2 separate regions of the Homo sapiens genome follow, and region 1 is linked to region 2. Evidence: promoter capture Hi-C in 16 types of primary human blood cells and fetal thymus (Javierre and others, 2016). All regions are on one chromosome and are shown on one strand. Each heading gives the region's core, a stretch centred on a gene start or on the middle of the fragment in contact. The rest is flanking DNA. Distances are from core to core; before and after follow the strand shown.

What was found. Contacts are between HindIII fragments. The CHiCAGO score rates a contact against its expected background, and 5 or more counts as called.
Region 1: the fragment with the promoter of TINF2 here is called in contact with a fragment that was not itself captured in region 2 in 1 of 17 cell types (naive CD8 T cells); the score reaches 5.9 in naive CD8 T cells.

The regions. Positions count from the first base shown.
Region 1 is chr14:24,241,373-24,245,393 of GRCh38, forward strand. TINF2 (TERF1 interacting nuclear factor 2) reads right to left here and starts at 1,251. Exons shown (of 9, transcript NM_001099274.3): 1 at 769-1,251; 2 at 518-622; 3 at 303-404. The coding sequence starts at 960. RefSeq lists enhancers at 1-19, 680-899, 970-1,229, 1,400-1,699 and a silencer at 1,891-2,185. The HindIII fragment of the contact is 13,864 bases long and covers 1-4,021 here.
Region 2 is chr14:21,386,349-21,389,996 of GRCh38, forward strand. All of the region lies in intron 37 of CHD8 (chromodomain helicase DNA binding protein 8), which reads right to left. The region is part of intron 1 of LOC107984643 (a long non-coding RNA gene); the gene reads left to right. Among named protein-coding and RNA genes, the nearest start is that of SNORD9, 4.1 kb to the right of the region's middle. The HindIII fragment of the contact is 7,320 bases long and covers 1-3,648 here.

The DNA.
Region 1 (4,021 bases), core at 1-2,500, 2.9 Mb after region 2:
TAATCCTGGCCATTTGGGAGGCCGAGGTGGGCGGATCACTTGAGGTCAGGAGTTCGAGACCAGCCTGGCCAACATGGTGAAACCCCATCTCTACTAAAATACAAAAATTAGCTGGGCATTTGTAATCCCAGCTACTCGGGAGGCTGAGGCAGGAGAATCGCTTGAACCCGGGAGGCAGAGGTTGCAGTGAGCCGAGATTGTGCCACTGCACTCCAGCCTGGGCGACAGAGCAAGATTCCTCAAAAAAAAAAAAAAATGGGTTAGAGAAAATAGCCACATAATAGCCTTCAAACCAGTCTCACCTGCAGCTTCGAGGCCAAATCCACAGGAGCCTCTGACAGCTGCTTCACCTGCTGGTAAAAAGTTTCCTGTGCCTCCAAAATCTTCCTCAGATCCTGCTTTGTCTGTTGAGGATACAGAAGACAGAGAAGTTAGCACCAACATCCAGTAGACAGGAGGAGCAACTTTGCTGCACCAAGTGTAACTGGGGTCAGGGCTTGTTCCGGGGATTACTCACAGCCTTGGGATCCCGCACTATAGGTCCAGATTCTGGAAAGTGGTGATTCAGGGCTTTCAGGACTTGGGCCCAAGGCCGGCCCTGCAGGATCAGCTCCACCACCACCTGTACGGTACTGAATTCAGAATCCCCACTTCGGGGCAAGCTGACCTTTTCCAACTAGTCTCATCCCCAAGCTGTGGGCCCTTGTCAGGTGCTCGCATCCCGCCCCTTTCTTTCTTTCCCCTTCCAGGTCCTACTTGCTCCAATACCTTGGCCTTTAGGCCCATACAAAGGCGTTCGTGGTGCCGGTAGCGAACCAAGCCAGGGGCAACAGCGCGCAGAGATCGCAGAAACTCCAGTACTCGCGGAAAATGTTCCACGCAGCGTCCGCGCACAACCTGCCAGCTAGCCGCGGCGGCGAAGCGTAGAGCTGCGGGACCCGCCACCAGGGGCGTAGCCATGGTCGGCGGGCTCCGCCCGGAGGCGGTCCCTCCGGGTTCCTCACCCGGATGGGTGAGGCTTTCCGATCACTCCTAGGGGCGGGGCTTCTGGCAACTCCCTGTCGCTCCGGTCTGTCGGCTCTGGGTACCTCGCGATCTGACTCGGCTCCCTTCCATCGGCCCCCAGAATTCTGGGGGAGGGGGTCTTCTGGCTCGGGCTGGAGGAGCCTGAGTGGAGAAGCTGACCGTCTCCAGTGGCACTGGGTCGCTCAGCTTTAAACGTCGCCGCTGTCTCGAGCCCGAGGGTGCCTCACTTCCGGCTCCGCTACTAGCTTCCCTTGCCCCGGAAAAGGGCGGTAAGAGGGAGCCAATGGGCGGCCACAGAGGGAACCGTGACGGTGCGTCAGAAGGCCACGCCCCAGCGGAGCTGTAGCTGCCCGCTTCCTGCACTCTCTGCCGGCTGACATGAGTTGGCGGCTGAGGCTGTCGTGGCCGCTGAGGCTGTTGTGGCCGTTCGTCTGGGTCCTCCCAGCCTTGCTTTCTTCGCGGAGCCTGCGGAGAAGCCCCGTCACTCCCGTGAGGCTCGACTTCCTAGTCTGTAAAACGAGGATCATGCCACCGCCCTTTCCCACTGTCTTCACCCATCGAAATTTAGTTCTTTAAATTCCAGACCCGAGCCGGCGTCTACAAAGCCTTCCCCTCTGCGCGCGTCGCTTCCAGTAGGAATTCGACTGTTCCTTTTATAAAACAGAAGAGGGCGCCCGCCCTTAAAAAATAAAATACAGGCTGGGCGTGGTGGCTTGTGTCTAATCCCAGCGCTTTGAGAGGCCGAGGCAGGAGGGTCACTTGAGCCCAGGAGCTCCAGACAAGCCTGGGCGACATGGTGAAACCCCTTCTCTGCTAAAAGTACAAAAATTAGCTGGGCGTGGTGGCAGGCGCCTGTAATCCCAGCTACTCGGGAGGCCGAGGCAGGAGAATCGCTTGAACCCAGTAGACGGGAGGTGGCAGTGAGCCGCGATCTTGCCTCTGCATTCCAGCCTGGGCGACAGAGGGAGAATCTCTCTCAAAGAAAAAAAAAAAAAAAAAAAGAGGAAGAAGAAGAAATAGAATACAGGCTGGGGGCACGGTGACTCACACCTGTAATCCCAGCACTCTGAGAGGCCGAGAGGGGAGGATCGATCCGCTTGAGCCCAGGAGTTCCAGACCAGACTGGATCACATGGCGATAACCTGTCTCTACTGAAAATCAAAAAAACTAGCCGGGCGTAGTGGCACGCCTGTAGTCCCAGCTACTCAGGAGGCTGAGTTGGGAGGATTGTTTGAGCCAGGGAGGTTGAGGCTTCAGTGACTGCACTCCAGCCTGAGTGATAGAGTGAGACGGGGTCTCACACACACACACAAATTAGTTTCTTGTTTTAGGATTCTGTTGTGCACTGAACTTGTCAGCCCCCTAATGTAATTGACTGCTCTCCTTGACTGTCTCTTCCACAGGCTTCCTGGTGCCTCTCATTTCCATCAGCAAGCACAGAACCTAACACACAGCTTACACTCCTTAATTGTTGGCTGGATTAGTTGCCTGCCTTGACCACCTTACAAGGATTTAGTGAAACTGCTCCGTCTTTAGCCCATGTCTTCCATTCCCAGAGATAATGGTTCACACATCCTTGTCTCCGCCCCGGATCAGTCTCAGCTGATCCGCACATTCGACTGCCCAAGAAACACCCAGTCCCAAAGTACCCCAAATTGGATATGTGTGAAATTCTAGTTATCTTCCTTTTTCCCTTTATTTATTCCTTCTCTAATGTTCTTTCTTTCTTATGTAGATATGAACTTCTGTTGTTTTACTTTTTTTTTTTTTTGAGACGGAGTCTCGCTCTGTCGCCCAGGCTGAAGTGCAGTGGCGCGATCTCAGCTCACTGCAAGCTCCGCCTCCTGGGTTCACGCCATTCTCCTGCCTCAGCCTCCCGAGTAGCTGGGACTACAGGCGCCCACCACCGCGCCCGGCTTTTTTGTATTTTTAGTAGAGACGGGGTTTCACCGTGGTCTGGATCTCCTGACCTCGTGATCCGCTCGCCTCGGCCTCCCAAAGTGCTGGGATTACAAGGCGTGAGCCACCGCGCTCGGCTCTTTTTTTTTTTTTGAGGTGGGGAGACAGTCTCGCTCTGTTGCTCAGGGTGGAGTGCAGTGATCTTGGCTCACTGCAACCTCTGCCTCCTGGGCTTAAGTGATCCTCCTGCCTCAGCCTCCAAAGTAACTGGGGCTACAGGCATGCACCACCATGCCTGGCTCATTTTTTTCTATTTTTTGTAGAGACAAGTCTTTGTTGCCCAGGCTGGTCTCGAATTCCTGGACTCAAGCGATCTTCCCACCTCGGCTTCCGAAAGTGTTGGGATCGCAGGCGTGAGCCACTGCACGCAGTCCCTGGCTAATTTTTTAAAAAATCTTTTTTGGTGGGTGTGGTGGCTCATGCCTGTAATCCCAGAACTTTGGGAGGCTGAAGTGGGAGGATCACTTGAGGCCAGGAGTTTGAGACCAGCCTGGGCAATACAGTGAGACCCTGACTCTACAAAAAAAAAAAAAAAGAAAAATATGTTTTGTAGAGAAGGGGTGTCTCTCTGTGTTGCCCAGCCCAGTCTATCTTCATTTTTTGTTTTTTGTATTTATCCTGCTTGCTGCTCTCTGAGCTTCCTGGATCTGTGTTTTGTGTCTGTCATTAATTTGGGGGAAATTCTCAGTCATTATTGCCACATTTCTTATGTTCCTTTATTTTCTTCTCTGCCATTCTGATTATGTGTATGCTACAGCTTCTATAATTGTCCTACAATTCTTGGATATTCTGTTCTTTTTCATTTTTTTTTCTCATTGCATTTCAGCTTTGGAAATTTCTGTTGACATTTCTTCAAGCGCACCATGTTCTTTGGCCATGTCCAGTCTATTGATGAGCCCATCACAGACATTCATCATTTCTGTTACAGTGGGTTTTTTTTGTTTTTTGAGACAATGTCTTGCTTTGTTGCTCAGGCTGGAATGCAGTGGCTCAATATCAGCTCACTGCAACCTGTGTCTCCCAAGTTCAAGCGATT
Region 2 (3,648 bases), core at 751-3,250:
TGGACTTAGCTGGTTGAAACATTCTGATACTAAAGTTAAGATCAATGATTTTGTACCGAAACTCATATTAACCAGTTTTTGCTTCTTTTCCCCATGACTATATTGTATCTTTACTTTAGTCAACCATTTCACAAATGCTTACCTTTGTTAAGAAGGGGTCTGGGTAAGACAATGAATTAGTAAATGCACATAAAAAAAATCACTTGTGACCGGGCGCGGTGGCTCACGCCTGTAATCCCAGCACTTTGGGAGGCCGAGGCGGGGGAATCACAAGGTCAGGAGATCGAGACCATCCTGGCTAACACGGTGAAACCCGGTCTCTACTAAAAATGCAAAAAATTAGCTGGGCAAGGTGGCGGGCGCCTGTAGTCCCACAGCTACTCGGGAGGCTGAGGCAGGAGAATGGTGTGAACCCGGGAGGCAGAGCTTGCAGTGAGCCGAGATCGCGCCACTGCACTCCAGCCTGAGCGACAGCGAGACTCCGTCTCAAAAAAAAAAAAAAAATCACTCGTGTCTCCTGATGGCAAGTTGTTCACTTGTTCTTACTATGTGAATTGACATTTACAATAATATCCTCTATTAGCACATCAAAGCAGGGTAAATTCAAGACAGATCAGATAAAGATTTCTACATGTCTAGAACACCAAAAAACTGTCAGAAACTCCTCACTAAATTTAATAAAATAATTTTTGTTCCACATTGATAAAAAACTTACATATCTGAATTTTAAATGGCTTCTTCTAGATGTTCTGACTAAAAATTCTGATTAAGTTCATTGAAGATAGAAGTTATTCCTGCAGGTCCCAAGAATAACGTAGTGCTAGATTCACTGTCAATTCTATATTAAGAATTCTGGGCCAGGCGTGGTGGCTCATGCCTGTAATCCCAGCACTTTGGGAGGCTGAGGCAGGTGGATCACTTGAGGTTAGGAGTTCAAGACCACCCTGGCCAACATAGCGAAACTCTGTCCCTACTAAAAATACCAAAATTAGCCGGGAGTCAGCCAGGCGTGGTGGCTCACGCCTGTAATCCCAGCACTTTGGGAGGCTGAGGGCAGGCGGATCACCTGAGGTTGGGAGTTCGAGACCAGCCTGACCAACATGGAGAAACCCCATCTCTACTAAAAGTACAACAAATTAGCTGGGCGTGGTGCCGCATGCCTGTAATCCCAGCTACTGGGGAGGCTGAGGCAGAAAAATCGCTTGAACCCAGGAGGCGGAGATCGCGGTGAGCAGAGATCACGGCATTGTACTCCATCCAGCCTGGACAACAAGAGTGAAACTCTGTATCAAAAAAAAAAAAAAAAAAAAAGCTGGGTGTGGTCGTGCATGGCTGCAATCCCAGTTACTCAGGAGGCTGAGGCAGGAGAATCACTTGAACCCAGGAGGCGGAGGTTGCAGTGAGCTGAGATCATGCCACTGCACTCCAGCCTGGGTTACAGAACGAGACTCTGTCTCAAGCAAAAAAAAAAAAAAAAAAAAGAATTCTGTACTAGTCATATTAGGATTTTCTGTGATTTTCTATGATATTTCTTAAGAGTTTCAGTTGACTATAAGGGAGTAGCAGAAGTACTTGAGGTAAAAATAGGTAACAGTGAAGGAAAAGCCCTTCTTACAGGCTGCTCTATAATGTTAAATTAAAGACAGAGATGGCATTAGCCTTCTAGCCACCAGCCTTTCCCATATCAACCATTCTGTTTATTGCACTCTTGTTCTCATCGAGGCTAACAGGGAAAACTGAAACATTCTCCCATGGTAACACTTCCATTAATATAAAAATAAGCCTCATAAATCTACATATATTTTATGTTTCAAACTTGTTAAATGCAAAATATTGATAGTTTACTTTAAAATTAATTTTGTTAAAAGATATTCCATGTGGTTATATAGACACATAAATATATGTGTATGCACATAGTCAGCCTTCCATATCCATGGATTCAACCATCTGTGGATTGAAAATATTTGAAAACAACAAGAAACTAAAAAATAACAAGAGAAAATACTACAGATTTTAAAACAATACCGTGTAACAACTATTTACATAGTATTTATATTGTGTTAGGTATTATAAGTAATCAAGAGATTAAAGTGTATCAGAGGAAGTGTGTCGGTTACATGGAAATACTACATGATTTTATTTATTTATTTATTTATTTTTTGAGGCAGGGTCTCACACTCTATTGCCCAGGCTGGAGTGCAGTGGCATGATCATGGGTCACTGTAGTCTCAGCCTCTGGGCTCAAGTGATCCTCCTGCCTCAGCTTCCACATAGCTGATACTAGAGGACTGCACTACCACGCCCAGCTAATTTTTTGTAGAGATAAGGTCCCACTGGGGTCCCCAGGCTGGTCTTGAACTCCTGGGCACAAGTGATCCTCTTGCCTCAGCCTCCCAAAGTGCTGGGATTACAGGTAAGAGCCACCGCACCTGGCTCTACACCATTTTATATATAAAGGACTCGAGCATCCATGGATTTTGGTATCTGCAGGGGTCCTGGAACCAATCCCTCACAGATACCAAGGGATGACTGTATGTGTATAAAGATTTCTATAGAAGATCAAATGGGGGAATAATTAGATAAGGCAAGTATATACAAGTGCTAATCCATTTTAAATGACTCTATGTCATTTAAAACAATGATTTATGTATGCTTTAAAAATACAACTATTGACCAGGCGCTGTGGCTCACGCCTGTAATCCCAACACTTTGGGAGGCTGAGGCGGGTGGATCACAAGGTCAGTAGTTCGAGACCAGCCTGACCAACATGGTGAAACCCCGTCTCTACTAAAAATACAGAAATTAGCTGGGCATGGTTGCACACACCTGTAATCCCAGCTACTCGGGAGGCTGAGGCAGGAGAATCACTTGAACTTGGGAGGTAAAGGTTGCAGTGAGCTGAGATCAGTCCATTGCACTCCAGCCTGGGCAACAGAGCAAGACTCCGTCTCAGGAAAAAAAAAAAAAAATTACAACTATTGGCCAGGCACAGTGGCTCATGCCTGTAATCCCAGTACTTCGGGAGGCTTAGGCAGGTGGATCACCTGAGGTCGGGAGTTTGAGAACAGTCTGGCCAACATGGCAAAACCTTCTTTCTATTAAAAATACAAAAATTAGCTGGGTATGGTAGCATGCGCCAGTGGTCCCAGCTACTTGGGAGGCTGAGGCAAGAGAATCACTTGAACCGGGGATGCAGAGCTTGCCGTGAGCTGAGATTGTGGCACTGCCCTCCAGCCTGGGTGACAGGGCAAGACTCTGTCTCAAAAAAATAAAAGATTAAAAAACAAATACAACTATTGCAGAAAGTAAGGTAAGCATAGCCAAGAGAAACTTTTGCAGTTGAAATTTGGTGGAAAGAATAAACTGTGGGTACTTAGTCCACCAAATGGCCTATTATCCATCATAAAAGTATAAGTAAATTTGAAAATATAGAATAACTTAATGGACAAATTTATTATGAATTACAAAACAGTTTCCTCTGCTTTTTCCATTACTGACATATTATTAGTGATTCTCAACCTTTATATATTGGGAAATCTCATGACTATTTTCCTTAGAAGACCTCTCCAAACACTTCTAAAATATATAGAATTAGAAAACTTAAGGCCGAGTGCGGTGGCTGAAGCCTGTAATCCCAGTACTTCAGAA